Regions from separate parts of the Homo sapiens genome. Here region 2 is linked to region 1. Evidence: promoter capture Hi-C in 16 types of primary human blood cells and fetal thymus (Javierre and others, 2016). All regions are on one chromosome and are shown on one strand. The core of a region is centred on a gene start or on the middle of the fragment in contact, and the rest is flanking DNA. Distances in the headings are between cores, read along the strand shown. Region 1 has its middle 4.4 kb from the start of TRK-TTT8-1. Region 2 holds the start of LEMD1-AS1 (LEMD1 antisense RNA 1).

Region 1 (6,299 bases), core at 3,520-6,019:
TGTAAAATAAGAAGTATGAGCTTGGATTGAGGTGTTCTGGTTGGTTGCCTCAGTGGGTGATGATGATTAGGGTAGAAACTAATCGTTGTTGGGAGCTGGTGTATAACATACCTCTACCCCTTTGTTTCCCAGGTAAAATGATTCTGTGGTGCCCGTTCTAACCTGGCTCCCAGAGTTACTCAGTGGCCTTGAGCTTTGATGACTCCCAGGGGTAATTTTCCTGATAATGATCCTTTATGGGCTGCCTTCCCTTCCCAGTTTCCCTTCCCTATTCCACTCCTGGTATATCCTGGGATCACTTCCTAAATAAAATTCTACAGTTAAAACTTTATTTCAAATTGGAATGCTTCATACGTTGCTGGTGGGAATGTAAAATGGCGTAGCTGCTTTGGAGGATAGTTTGGCAGGTTCCCAAAATGTTAAATATGGAGCTACCATATGACCCAACATTTCCACTAGGTATCTATACCTGAAAGAATTGAAACATATGTCCGCACAAAAACTTGTACATAAATATTTATAGCAGCATAATCCATAATAGCAAGAAAGTGGAAACCACCCAAATGTCCATGAAATGGTGAATGAATAAGCTAAATGTGGTACATCCATACAATGGAATAGTATTCAGCCATAGAAAGGAATGAAGTACTAATACATGCTACAACATGGATGAACTTTGAAAACATTATGCTAGATGAATGAAGCTAGTCACAAAGGGCCACATATTGTATGATTCCATTGATATGAAAGTCCAGAATAGGGAAATCTATAGACACAACAACTATATTTGTGATTGCTAGGGGTCAGGGGAAGAGGAGAATGGGAATAACTGCTAATGTGTATGAGGTTTCTTTATAGGGTGATGAAAGTGTTCTAAAATTGTGATGGTTGCACAACTCTTAATATACTAAAAATCACCACATTATACACTTTGAAGGGGTAAATTATATGGTATGTGAGTTATATCTCAATAAAGCTTTTTAATTTTTTTAAAGCCCTTGTCTCAAGGTTCACTTCTTGGGAAACCTCAACTAGGATTCCCTAGAACCTAGAATTGTGCCTAGCACATAGTAAGTGTTTAATCAGTGTGGAAATACATGTTGAATGACTGAATATTGAACAACAGCAAACTCAGGTTTAATATGTCACATACACACAACTGCTAATAGAACCATACCTCCATTCCCACAAGCCAGGCCTTGACCACCACCTCATTCCCTACGGGAAACATTAAGTCCGGCAGGCATGTCTGTTGCAATTGTTAGCTTGTGAAAGGAGCAGAGTGGTGTGTATGTGTGTTAGTGAGATGGTGAGGGAGGGAAAGGGATGTGTGTGGTGTGTATGGGGTTGGGGGTGTGTGTGTGTGATGTGTGTGTAGTATGTGTGGTGTGAATGCTGTGTGTGTATATATGTGTAGTGTGTGTATATGTGTGCTGTGCGGTGTGTGTGTGTATGTGTACAGTGTGTGTATGTAGTATGTATGGTATATATATGGTGTGTGCTGTACATATGCATGTGTGTGTGTATATGTGTGTGGTGTATGTGTGGTGTGTGTGTGTATACGTGTAGTGTGTTTATATGTGTGTGGTATGGGGTTCCTGCAGCAGGTCACTGTCACTCTGCAGGGTGTCCCCACCCGCAGGGATTTGGCCGACATCTTCAGCTGTCCATTGGTTGGCCAGTCCCATCTTTTGGGGTTCAAAGGCTGAGAAGAGAAAATGGAGCCCGACCCTGAGCAGGTTTAGAGCAGAGGACACCCCTCACCCATGATCCAACATGCCAGACCCTTTCTCATCTGTTAGCAAGAAAGCCAGTCCTTGAGGGACTTAGATCACTCCCATCACCATTAGAATGGGCTTCCCAACATCTATGACTCAACATCCCCCTCAACTGAGTGAGACTGTCAGATCCCTGCCCCCATCCCCCACCCCTACCTGCTATGGCCTAGCTGAGCTCCAAGGATGAAGACCCCGCGGCCCCAGGTGTGCCTGCGAAGCTGTATGTGGGGTGAGGAGCACACTGGTGAGCAGGGTGTGAGCCCTGGGACTGTCACAGCCCCGTAAGGTTCAGAGCAGGCTCCTTCCCACCTTGGCCCGGGTCTCCTGGGAGTGTGGTGAGGCACAGGGCTGGCTGTCTGCTGACATTCTCAGTCCTTCCAGCAGGGTACATCCTCTGCCCTTCCCCCTGAGGGGTTAACCATCAGGACTGCCCCTCCTTCCTCAAACCCTGGCAGTTCCAGGGGTGCCCTCTGTCCCAGGCCTGGCCTGGCCAGCTGCCCCCTCCATTCTGCAGGGCCATGTGGATTCCCTCTAGCTGTCCCTGGTCCAGGCGCTCAGTGGCAGAACTGTAAATCCTCTAGGCTGGCTCCAGACTCTACCTGCCTGGGCACCTGCTTCGGAGGACGGGCCTGCCTTTCCCGCCCCCGGCAGATGGCCACTGCGCCTTGGGATCTGCAAGCAGGAAAAGCAGCACCAAGCATCCCCTGACTGGGCCTCCCTTGGTCCTGGCCCGCTTCCCTCACACCCCTCCCCAGGCAGCGTGCCCCTGCCCACCTGTGGGCAGCACTGGCTGTTGGCTCCAGCCCATTCCAGTGCTCATTCTGACGGTTAAGTCAGACGTCACTCCACAAATATTTTTGGCCTCCTTGCTCTGAGCCAGGCACTGTGCCAGGCCCTGGGGATACCAAGATGAATGAGGAAGCTAGAGGGTACTGCCCACAAGGACTCAGGAGAGCAGAGCAAGTAACACAGAACGCAATGTAGTAAAAGCAAGGGCATTGTTCATAAAACAGAGCTAATCACACGCAGGCACTGCTGTAAGCACTTTATGTACATTAGGTCATGTAGTTGCACAGCTCCATGGTGGAGGTCTCATTACAAATACGGAAGCTGAGGCTCAGAGAGGTGAGGACATTTGTCCAGGGCCACCCAACTACTACAGGGTCGAGGTAGGATTCAAACCCAGGCTGTCCAGCTGTCCAGCTCGAGCCTAGCTTTTATTTATTTATCTATTTATTTATTTGAGACTGAGTCTCACTCTATCACCCAGGCTGGAGTGCAGTGGTGCTATCTTGGCTCACTGCAACCTCCGCCTCCTGGGTTCAAGTGATTCTCGTGCCTTAGCCTCCAGAGTAGCTGGGATTACAGGCATGCACCACCACACCCGGCTAATTATTGTATTTTTCAGTAGAGGCAGGGTTTCTCCATGTTGGCCAGGCTGGTCTCAAACTCCTGACCTCAATTGATCTGCCTGTCAAGGCTAGCTTTTAAACAATGTTAGATTGCTTCCAGATGAACCCAGGAGGAAGAAGCTCAGAGGGCATCTCTGAGCTGCCTGGAGAGGTAGTGAGGGATCACCGGGCAGCTGGCTTTCTCTTCCCAGAGGCATTGAACTGATTTAAATATGGCTCTAAACACAGTGAGCTGGCAGGGGCCTTGGGGCCTCATGATATTAAGCCCTTAATGGTGTGAAGCCCTTCCAGGTACTAAAGGGCAGCAATGTTGGCCCTTGGCATGGGAGGGCAGGGAGGGAGGAGGGCCATGGTGCCAAGAATCTGTAACCACAAGACACCATGTCTCAAAAAAAAAAATTTTTTTTGAGACAGGGTCTTGCTCTGTTGCCCAGGCTGGAGTGCAGTGGCACAGTCTTGGCCCACTGCAGCCTCAAACTCCTGGGCTTAAGCTGTCCTTCCACCTCAGCCTCCCGAGTAGCTGGGACTACAGGTGTGTGCCACCATGCCAGGCTAATTTTTTAATTTTTTGCAGAAGTGGGGTCTTGCTATGTTGCCCAGGCTGGTCTCGAACTCTGGGTTCAAGCAATCCTCCCACCTTACCCTCCCAAAGTGCTGGGATGACAGAAGTGAGCTACTCCTGGCTAAGACACCCTGTCTTTGGTGCCAATATCACCACATGAGCAGAGGGCAGTCCTGGGGGTCCCAATGAGGCCTCTCCACCATTTATTTTATTCATTCCATTATAGTCCATACTTGCTTGATCACCACACTTATTTCATTGCCTGTCTATCTCCTAAGTCTCCAAGTTCCCCCATGAGCCATCACACCTGGGCAGGGCATGAATGTTAACATGTATCCCCAGGACCATGGTGATGGGGAGGGGGGTGGGGTGGTGGGGGGTGGGGGGGCAGGGTGAAGCTTCATTCATAAGCACCCTCACTCCTCACTACAAACTCTCAGAGAGTTCTGAGAACTCTCCAGGAACAATGTTGCAACCATTCGTTCCACACATATTTATCAAGGGCCTCCTGTGTACCACGCAGGATTTAGGCACCAGGAACCCAGATCCGCCCTCAAGGACCTCTAGTGCAGCAGGGGAGACAGAGAAGAAAGCAGGCAGCCACGTGCTAGGGAGAGCCAAGCCACGGGGGAGACCAGTGGCTCTTGGGGGTGGACTGATGACTGCAGGGTGAAGTTATCCCTTTGAGGGGCCCAGACACTGAGCTGAGAAATGGCACAATTGCTAGAGAGAGAATTACAAGAAAAGCTGAGCTGTGGATACAAACGTGTGAGACAGAGAGGGGCAGGAGAAGAAGCCAGGCTGGCAGGGGTAGGGGGGTAATAATTCCAGTTCTAACTGCTTCTACACAGAAAAACTCATTCAATCCTCGCAACAAGTTTATGAGGCAGGTACTCTTAAAATACCGATTTCATAGGTGAGAAAACCATTGGCACAGAGAGGTTCAGTGACTTGCCTCGGACACACAGCTAGAAAGTAACAGGTAGGTTTTTTTTTTTTTTTTGAGACAGAGTCTTGCTCTGTCACCCAGGCTGGAGTGCAGTGGTGTGATCTCAGCTCTTGCAACTTCCACTTCCCGGGTTCAAGCTATTCTCCTGTCTCAGCCTCCAGAGTAGCTAGGATTACAGGCGTGCACCACCACACTGGGCTAATTTTTTGTATTTTTAGTAGAGGTGGAGTTTTACCAAGTTGGCCAGGCTGATCTCGAACTCCTGACCTCAAGTGATCTGCCTGCCTCGGCCTCCCAAAATGCAGGGATTACAGGTGTGAGCCACTGCGCCCAGCCACAGATAGGATTTGAACCCAGGAAATCCGGCTCCAGCATCTGTGCTTCTAACCACCATACTGCACGGCTGTGGCAAGCAGGAGTCAAACCATAGACATCCTTTTGGTCATACTAAGGAGCCTAAAATGCTCTCCCAGGGGATGCGGAGACCCTGGAAGTTTGAACGGGAAAGAGGGATGAGGCTGGAGGCCGCATGGAGGATGGGTTTCAGGGGTGAGGCGCGAGGGCAGCCAGGAGGCTGTTGCTGCAGCCAGGTGAGAAGAGGTCCAAGGCAGCGGTGGGAGAGGGCAGGATGAATTTGAGAAAAACCAAGAAGGTAAACTTGGCAAAATGTGTGACTGGCAGGAAATGAAAGCTTGTGAAGAGGGAGGTGTGAAGAGGGGCTTTCCGATCTCTGGCTGGGTGCTTGGGGGAGGGTGCGCCACCGGCCAGGCCACCGAACACAGGAGAAAGGCTGTCGGAGTGACGCTGAGTTGAGGTTGGGGTGTGTTGTCTTGGAAGTATTTGCGGGACGCCCAGGTGGAGGTGCACAGCAGTCAGTAGAACCCCACAGCCCTGCTGCTACACCAAACCCATCTTCTCCCCACCCACCCTGCCCCCTCCCCCAGCCCCATCTTCCTCACCCCCCTCCTCCCTCCATTCTAGAGCCACCAGACTCCTGGAAAGCCCCAGTGCTTCCTCTGGGTTCCCAAGTCCTTGCACCTGTGTGGCACCAGGGCCTCCTCCCTGAAGCAACAGTTCGCCTCCCGTGGAGTGGGCATCGCAGATCCGCTCCCATTTCCGGCCTGCCCTTAATGTCCTCAGATGCTGGGATGGGAGTTTTCTAGTCTGTTTTCCCCTGGCAGCAGTGGGGACTTGATCTCCCTCCACGTCGTGTGGCCACAGCCTGTGACTCCATCCCCGTTAAGTGAACCAACACCGAATTGAGGAAGATCCCGTGCCGACCTGCACACTGATCTGTTGCAAGTCTGCTCATCAGGGTTCCTAGAGGGCAGCCACCTGGGCTGTGGCAGGGAAAGAACTGGGTGTGTAGGGGAATCAGGAAGGGGGATTTGTGGCAGACAGAGCTTGGGATGAGATGGGACCCAGGGTGCCTGGGAGAGACCTCTCACCAGAGGTTAGGAATCTAGATGCTAACCCTGGCCCTGCTACTGTGCTGCTGTGTGACCTTGGGCATGTTACCCAACTGCATGCATCTCCTCTGTCATACTCAGGCTCAACAGCATAGCCTGGCAGCCGGACATGTGGGCTGTCGACCTCCC
Region 2 (7,219 bases), core at 506-3,005, 110 kb before region 1:
TCACCTGAGGTCGGGAGTTTGAGACCAGCCTGGCCAACATGGAGAAACCCCATCTCTATTAAAAATACAAAATTAGCCGGGCATGGTGGTGCATGCCTGTAATCCCAGCTACTCAGGAGGCTGAGGCAGGAGAATCACTTGAACCTGGGAAGCGGAGGTTGCGGTGAGCCGAGATCACACCATTGCACTCCAGCCTGGGCAACAAGAGGGAAACTCCGTCTCAAAAAAATAGTGGTAAAATATACATAACAAAATTTACCATTGTAACCATTTTTAAGGGTACAGTTCAGTGGCACTAAGCACATACATGCTGCTGTGCAGCCATCACCACCATCCATCTTAGAACTTTTTTCATTCTCCAAAATGGATATTCTGTACCCATTAAACAGTAACTCCCCATTCCCCACAGTCTCCAGCTCCGGCAACACCATTCTGCTTTCTATCTCTGTGAATCCGACTACTCCAGGTAGCTCATGTAAATGGAATCATACAGTATTTGTCCTTTTCTGACTGGCTTATTTCACTTAACGTAATGTCTTTAAGCTTCCCCATTGCATAGTTTCTGGCTCAGATCATTCTAGTGCTCATTTTACAGATGAGGAAGCTGAGGCCCCACGGGAGCCTGCCAGGGCAGAGGTAGAATTGGATCCTGGATCTTCTGCTTAGGACACTCTCCCTAACGTTGCCCCGTTGAGGTAAACTGAGGAATGGAGAGACCGATATGGCAGAACAGGAGGATATTTATTTTAAGATATGCACCGGCTCAGTGGATTCACATCCAAAAAGCTGAGCATTGAACAAAGACAGAGCGGGGTTTTTATAAGCGGGCTTACAAAAGCAAAACAAAGGCAGTTAACCATATAGTGCATAACTTGTGGCCTTGCATAGCTGGTGGCCTTGTAGCTGAGACAAAAGAAAAACAAGAACTAGCTAAATACAGACATTTGTAAAACATAGTTATGCTTAAGAAGCCAGGGAAAGGAGTAACAGTAAAGGAATTTGTCTTTCTTTTTTTTCCTTTCAACCTTGCTCTGGAGGAAGGAGTGGGTGTCTGGAGCCCATTCCTTTGGCCTTGGCTTTTCGGACAGCCTTATCTTATAACTGTCCTTGAAGTGAGCTGCTAAGCAGAGGAAAACTTGCTTCTTTTCTTTTTAACCCTTGCCTTGCCTGTTACTTTTCTCGGAGTGAATTAATGCATATTTATTTTTAAATTTCTGCCTCAGCCCTTCTTAGACCAGATCTCACCTTTCTTTTCTAGTAATGCAAGTGAGAGCAACATGTTCTTCACAGCAGCAAAGCCATCCCTGTTCATACAGGTTGTGGAGTTACCCTTCTCTCTGCCAATTTGAAGGGTTGCCCAACATTAATCTGGGAAGGGAAAAAGGCTGCCTCCTAATCAGAACAGTAATGAACATTAATAATCCATTCTCCTTCAAGAGACAAATTTAAAAAAACCCAGTAGCAATAAACTAAAAAAAAAAAAAAAAAAAAAAAAAAAAAAGGACAAACTCATCCTTTCCCCTCCACATATTTTTAGCTAACTCTTGAACCCAAGGAGGATTTTACCAATGGCTCTCCAGGAATTAGAGTTGTCACACCAGTCTCCTGTTGCCAGGAAATGAGGAGAGCTGTCCTCATCCACATCTGCAGTACCTAGAATAGCCCCCTCTGGCTCTCCAGAGATTGATTCATTAGGCAGGGTTGTGTTTAGGTGACGCCCACAAACGAGAACATTCATAGCAGCCATCATTTCTCAGTGAATGCGGTCCTGTAAATGCTGGCGATCTTGTAGCAGTGCTGATTAGCGAGTTGCTCCAACACCTCCTCATAATTTTTTCCTGCTCATCACTCACCTGCTTTGTCAAAATGAACAAGAAGGAAGCATGATTGAGCTGTGCACCGAGGCGGCAAGGAAGCCCTGGATGACCCTCTTAACAGGTTCATTTCTTCTTGAGCAAGCTTGTTAAAAGTTAGCATTGCTTAACACAGGCTAATTGGCTTCCCTTTCATTTTCTTCCATCCAAGTTTCTATCGGGAATCTTCCTCAGAATAAAATGCCAAGTTGGTTAGGCACTTTCTTATTTTAGTCTTGAGATTACGTTCTTGCTTCAGGAAAGAGTCAAGTTTAATTTTACTTCCAAATCAGCCCCTTCTTGTTACTCTAATCAACAAGACTTTTCTTGGCTGGGAGGTAGGGGTAGGGGAGGAAAGGAAGGGAGGAAAAAAAGCAAGAAAAACAACCTCCTAAACATCAACAATCATTTTTCTTGCATGTAAGATTATCAACTACTATAGATATAAACATTGTGGTCTAGCACTTCTTTATTTATGACTGTGGCAATGAAAATAACTTGGTACTTAACCAATTATTTTTAAGAGGTGGTAGCACAGTATTTCTTTGAATGTCGAAGAACAGAAATAGAGCCTTTAAGAATTTCTTCCATCTGCCACCCTGAATATTGACTGGGTAGAGATTTAAACAGCATGCATGCAATAGAATTGGCCTCATCGCCCCATCTGTAGAACACAAGCCTGTGAAATCCAGTGTGTCTGTGTGACATGCAATTAGCTCAATCCTGTTTCTCCAGCCAGGGCTCCACTTCATTGTTTGGCCATGGGATGGAGAACACCTTTGCTGGGTGGCAGGATTGACCCTGCTGTAAATAGTGACATTTATAGGAATGAGGACTTTGGATGCCGTGGGAATGACAGTGTGTTAGAAGGCTAAACACTGCATAATGAGGTTGATTGGGAATGCCTTTCAACAGCAGTTTGCTCATTTTAGGGACTTCTCATCACAGGGATAAACAGGAAGCAAAATCTGGGGTATTGGTTTTGTGGTTTCAAATGTCTATTTGAGTTGGAAACTGCTCAAAATGGAAATGGGCTCTTTCTGGAGGTAGCACAGACATCACTTCGAGAGGAGATCCAGAGATGATTAAGATACAGTCCTCGACACAAGGAGCTCCAAGATTTGTAGGGGAGGCAGACGAGTCATTGAAATTGAAAAAATAAAACACCTCGCTGGCAAGGAGTTTGCTCTTGACAAGAAGAAATCAGTCTCTAGACTAATTCTCTTCCTATTGCTGAGACTAGAGCCCTGCCTTGGAATTTGATTTGGCCCAAGGTCAAGAAAATCTCAAGATCATGGGTCCTTGTATAGCTGGGATAGGGGTGGGTCAATGACTCTGCTGTTGGAGAAGGCACTGAGGTAAGGCCGGTTTTTTACGTACCAGGTCCCCAGCTGTGCTCTAGAAACTGCAGAAACAGAACAAAGCATAAGATTTGAAAACAAACAAATACACTCTGCACGTTGGAAGCAGGAGAAATCTTGGCATAGTATGCTGTTGTGGAGTGAGGGAGATTTTTCTCTTTCTTTATATAGATTCAGGCAGGATTGTGTCTGAGACCAGCACTACGTCTGAATCATTGTGAGTCACTGGGAGGGAGGTATAACTGTGCCCTGTAAGCGGGTCTCAGGGTGGAGAATCACTCTGAAGGATTAAAGGTGGGGCCCTTGGAAAACGATGAATCCTGAAGCAGAAAGCAAAGCTAGCCACTTCAATGCACTTTTAATGGGGTTAGCACTTTTCATTTTCCTAGGATTCTGGGAATGATTCATTTAGCGTTTGGTGTTAAGGTTCTTCCCTCCCCACATTTCAATTTCATATACATTTTCCCTTCCATCTAAAATGTCAGAAAAGCCTGTTACACAGCCTGTGTCACTGTATTGTGGAGAATGTAGGGACAGGGCAGCAGTGGGAGAATTGGCCTGGCCTGCATCAGCTCTCTGCGGAGGTCAGCTTGATGGCAGTGATCCTGGGATGTCAGTCAGCCTCCACTCCCTGGACCTATTTTCCCCAAATTACCAGGGAAAGGTGAGCCTTAAAAAGAAGATCATGAACTGGGTGCAGTGGCTCACACCTGTAATCCCAGCACTTTGGAAGGCCGAGGCAGGTGGATCACCTGAGGTCAAGAGTTCAAGACCAGCCAGGGCAACATGGAGAAACCATATCTCTACTAAAAATACAAAAATCAGCTGGGTGCGGTGGTGCGTTCCTGTAATCCCAGCTACTTGGGAGGCTGAGGCAGGAGAATCACTTGAACCTGGGAGGCGGAGGTTGCAGTGAGCTGAGATCGTGCCACTGCACTCCAGCCTGGGTGACAGAGTGAGACTCTGTTTCAAAAAAAAAAAAAAAAAAGAATCATAAAACACTTGGGTCACATCACAAATACTCAAAAAACAGGGCAAGTGCATTCTTAGAGTTTTCTAAGCAGAGAGGTTTTAACTGTTCCTCTTCACCCCCGATTCCCCTGTCCTATCTATTTGCACTGGGCAATTGCAGCCACAATTCTGTTCTCCCTGGGAGCCCCACAAAGCTATCTCAGCCACCAGCCAGCACCTCATTATTCCTTCTCTGCTGCTTTTGCTCCAGTAGCATTGCCCCATTCACTGCCCGTATCAAAGGCACCCACATTGGGCTGCCCACATCTGTTGCTGCCAATACACTGCAAACTGACCTGCCTCTCCCCTGTCCCAAGTCCCTCAAGGGATTCAGCACACAGCTCCTTGGTTTGGCCCCTCCTTAGAAGCCTGTCTCTCCAGCTCTCATTCAGGGGGCTGTGGCAACTGACACGGAAGACATTCAGGGAGGCAGACACTGTTAGTCCTTAGAAGAGTTACTTTTCTTATGCATTGGCTTCCATTAAAGTTCAAACTTTAACATAGACCATATTTTCCTTCCTATGGTCCCAAGACCCTCTATGATCTGAATCCCACCTTCTTTTCCAGCCGCATCTCTCCCCACCCGCTTCACTCTCTTGTGGCTTCCTAAACCTGCCATGCAGTCTCTCACACACTAGTCTTTGTAAATACTGCTCCCTCGCCTGGCAGACTTTTCCTTTAGCCTCGCCCACTTTTCCCTTATTTGGACTGAGTCCTACTCATCCTTCTGGCTTCAGCTGTGATACCACTTTTTCTAGGAAGCTACCCCTGTCTATTCCCAATATAGGAGAAGGTTGCTCTTTTGTGCTTCCAGGGTACCCTATGCCATCATCAAAAGGATGTCACTTAACACCGTACTATCTGTTGACTTTTCCATCTCTCCTGTCAGACTGTGTGTTCCTTAAGAGCAGGAACTATATCCTATACTGATTAAAAAAATTTTTTTTTAGAGACAGGGTCTTGCTCTGTCACCCAGGGGGAGTGCAGTGGCACAATAATAGCTCACTGCAGCCTCCTTGAAATCCTGGGCCCAAGTGATCCTCTGGGCTCAGCCTCCTGAGTAGCTAATTTTTCTTTTCTTCTTCTTCTTTATTTTTTTCGTAGAGACAGTCTTGCTATGTTGCTTAGGTTGGTCTTCAACTCCCAGCCTCAAGTGATCCTCCCACCTCTGCCTACCAAAGCGCTAGGATTACAGATGTGAGTCACTGTGCCTGGCTGGTTTTATTTGTCATTTTATTGCAAGGGAACAAGAGGTGCTAATCGACTGTTGAATAGATGGTGACACATTGCCTGGGACCAAACTTGTATGCCTTGAGTCTCTTCTTTTAAGACAAGTTTTTCTCCAAGAGGGAACACGTCCCCACTGCACTTAGGTTCCTGATAGGCTTAACTCATTGGTCCTCTGGCCTGAGTTTTAGAGACTCCTCCTATATATGGATCTATTAGAGATAGGAAAAAAACAAAAGTGTTTTTTCATTTATTTGTTTGTTTTGGGGTTTTTTGTTGTTGTTGTTTTGTTTTTTTGAGACAGGGTCTCACTTTGTCACCCAGGCTGGAGTGTAGTATCGAAACCATGGCTCACTATATCCTCGACCTCCAGGGTTCAACGATCCTCCCACCTCAGTCACCCAAGTAGCTGAGGCTACAGGCATGCACCACCATACATGGATAATTTTTGTATTTTTTGTAGAGACAGGGTTTTGCTATGTTGCTTAGGCTGGTCTCAAACTCCTCAGCTCAAGCGATCTGCCCGCCTCAGCCTCCCAGAGTGTTGGGATTATAGGTGTAAGCCACCATGCCTGGCCAACCAAAGTGTTTTTTTCTACTCCCACCCACCACAACAGTTCTGACACCAGATGTGTGGGTTTTTTCCCCACACACCAAGCAATTCTGGCACCAAATTCTCCATCAGACACCAACTGGATGCCCTATAATTTAATTCAATTCCAACACTGTCTGCCTAGGCACAGCATCAGATCCCACAGGTTCGGGGCTCAGTCTCAGAAGACTGCCCCCCACTTCCAATGCCAGTTAAGAACCCTACATTGTGACCTGTGCTTCTGAACAACCGACTATAAATCAAGGTTCCTAGGACCCTCTCCTTGGGTTAGATTAATTTCCCAGGGTGGTTCACAAAACTAAGGGAAACACTTCCCTTACATGTATTGGTTTAATAATAAAGGGTGCAGATGAGCATTCAGATGGAAGAGATGCACAGGGTGAAGCATGTGGGAAGGGGCACGGAGCTCCGCGCTGTTTCTAGCACTCCACCCTCCAGGCATCTCCACAGGTTCAGCTACCCAGAACCTGCTTCTGAACCCACTCCTTCTGGGTTTTTATAGCGGCTTCATTATGGAGGCAAGATTGATTAAATCACTGGCCATTGATGATTGACTTAACCTTCAGTTCATCTCCCTTTCCTGGAGTTTGGGGGGATGGGACTGAAAGTTCTAACCCTAGAATCCTGCCTTGATCTTTCTGGTGACCTGTCCCCATCCTGAAGCTATCTAGTGGCCGCCAGCCACCAGTCATGTCAAATAGCATAAAAAAGACACTTACCATTCAGGAGATTCCAACAGTTTTAGGAACTGTGTGCCAGGAACCGGGGCAGAGACAAAATATAAATTTTTTATTATATCACTATATCACAGCATCTGATAGGGATGGGCCACCACAATGCTTCCCAAACTTTAATTTGGGTAGGAATCACCTGGGATCCTGTTGAAATGCAGATTCTGGCTCAGTAGTTGGGACGGAGCCTGAGATGCTGATACTGCTGGTTGGGAACTCACACCTTGAATGGTCAGACACAAAAGTAATTGTCTGTGCAGTCTCTTTAAACTGATTCCAGAATTCTAACATAAAAGAACTGGGAAAAGTTGAAAATAATGGAGGAAACTTTCTAGAAGTTTTATTTTTTATCATGTTTGGTTTTATTAAGAACGGAAGTATTGGTGGAGCGCAGTGGCTCACGCCTGTAAACCCAGCACTTTG

What was found. Contacts are between HindIII fragments. The CHiCAGO score rates a contact against its expected background, and 5 or more counts as called.
Region 2: the fragment with the promoter of LEMD1-AS1 here is called in contact with a fragment that was not itself captured in region 1 in 4 of 17 cell types (naive B cells, total B cells, endothelial precursors and 1 more); the score reaches 6.3 in naive B cells.

What each region holds. Positions count from the first base shown.
Region 1 is chr1:205,475,441-205,481,739 of GRCh38, forward strand. No RefSeq gene overlaps it. Among named protein-coding and RNA genes, the nearest start is that of TRK-TTT8-1, 4.4 kb to the left of the region's middle. RefSeq lists a silencer at 5,599-5,658 and an enhancer at 5,834-6,299. The HindIII fragment of the contact is 1,242 bases long and covers 4,149-5,390 here.
Region 2 is chr1:205,371,497-205,378,715 of GRCh38, forward strand. LEMD1-AS1 (LEMD1 antisense RNA 1) reads left to right here and starts at 1,756. Exons shown (of 4, transcript NR_038425.1): 1 at 1,756-1,938. It overlaps LOC105371698 (a long non-coding RNA gene), which reads right to left and starts at 7,154. Exons shown (of 3, transcript XR_922462.2): 1 at 6,936-7,154; 2 at 6,785-6,813; 3 at 5,414-5,664. RefSeq lists silencers at 885-1,179, 4,725-5,019. The HindIII fragment of the contact is 1,416 bases long and covers 542-1,957 here.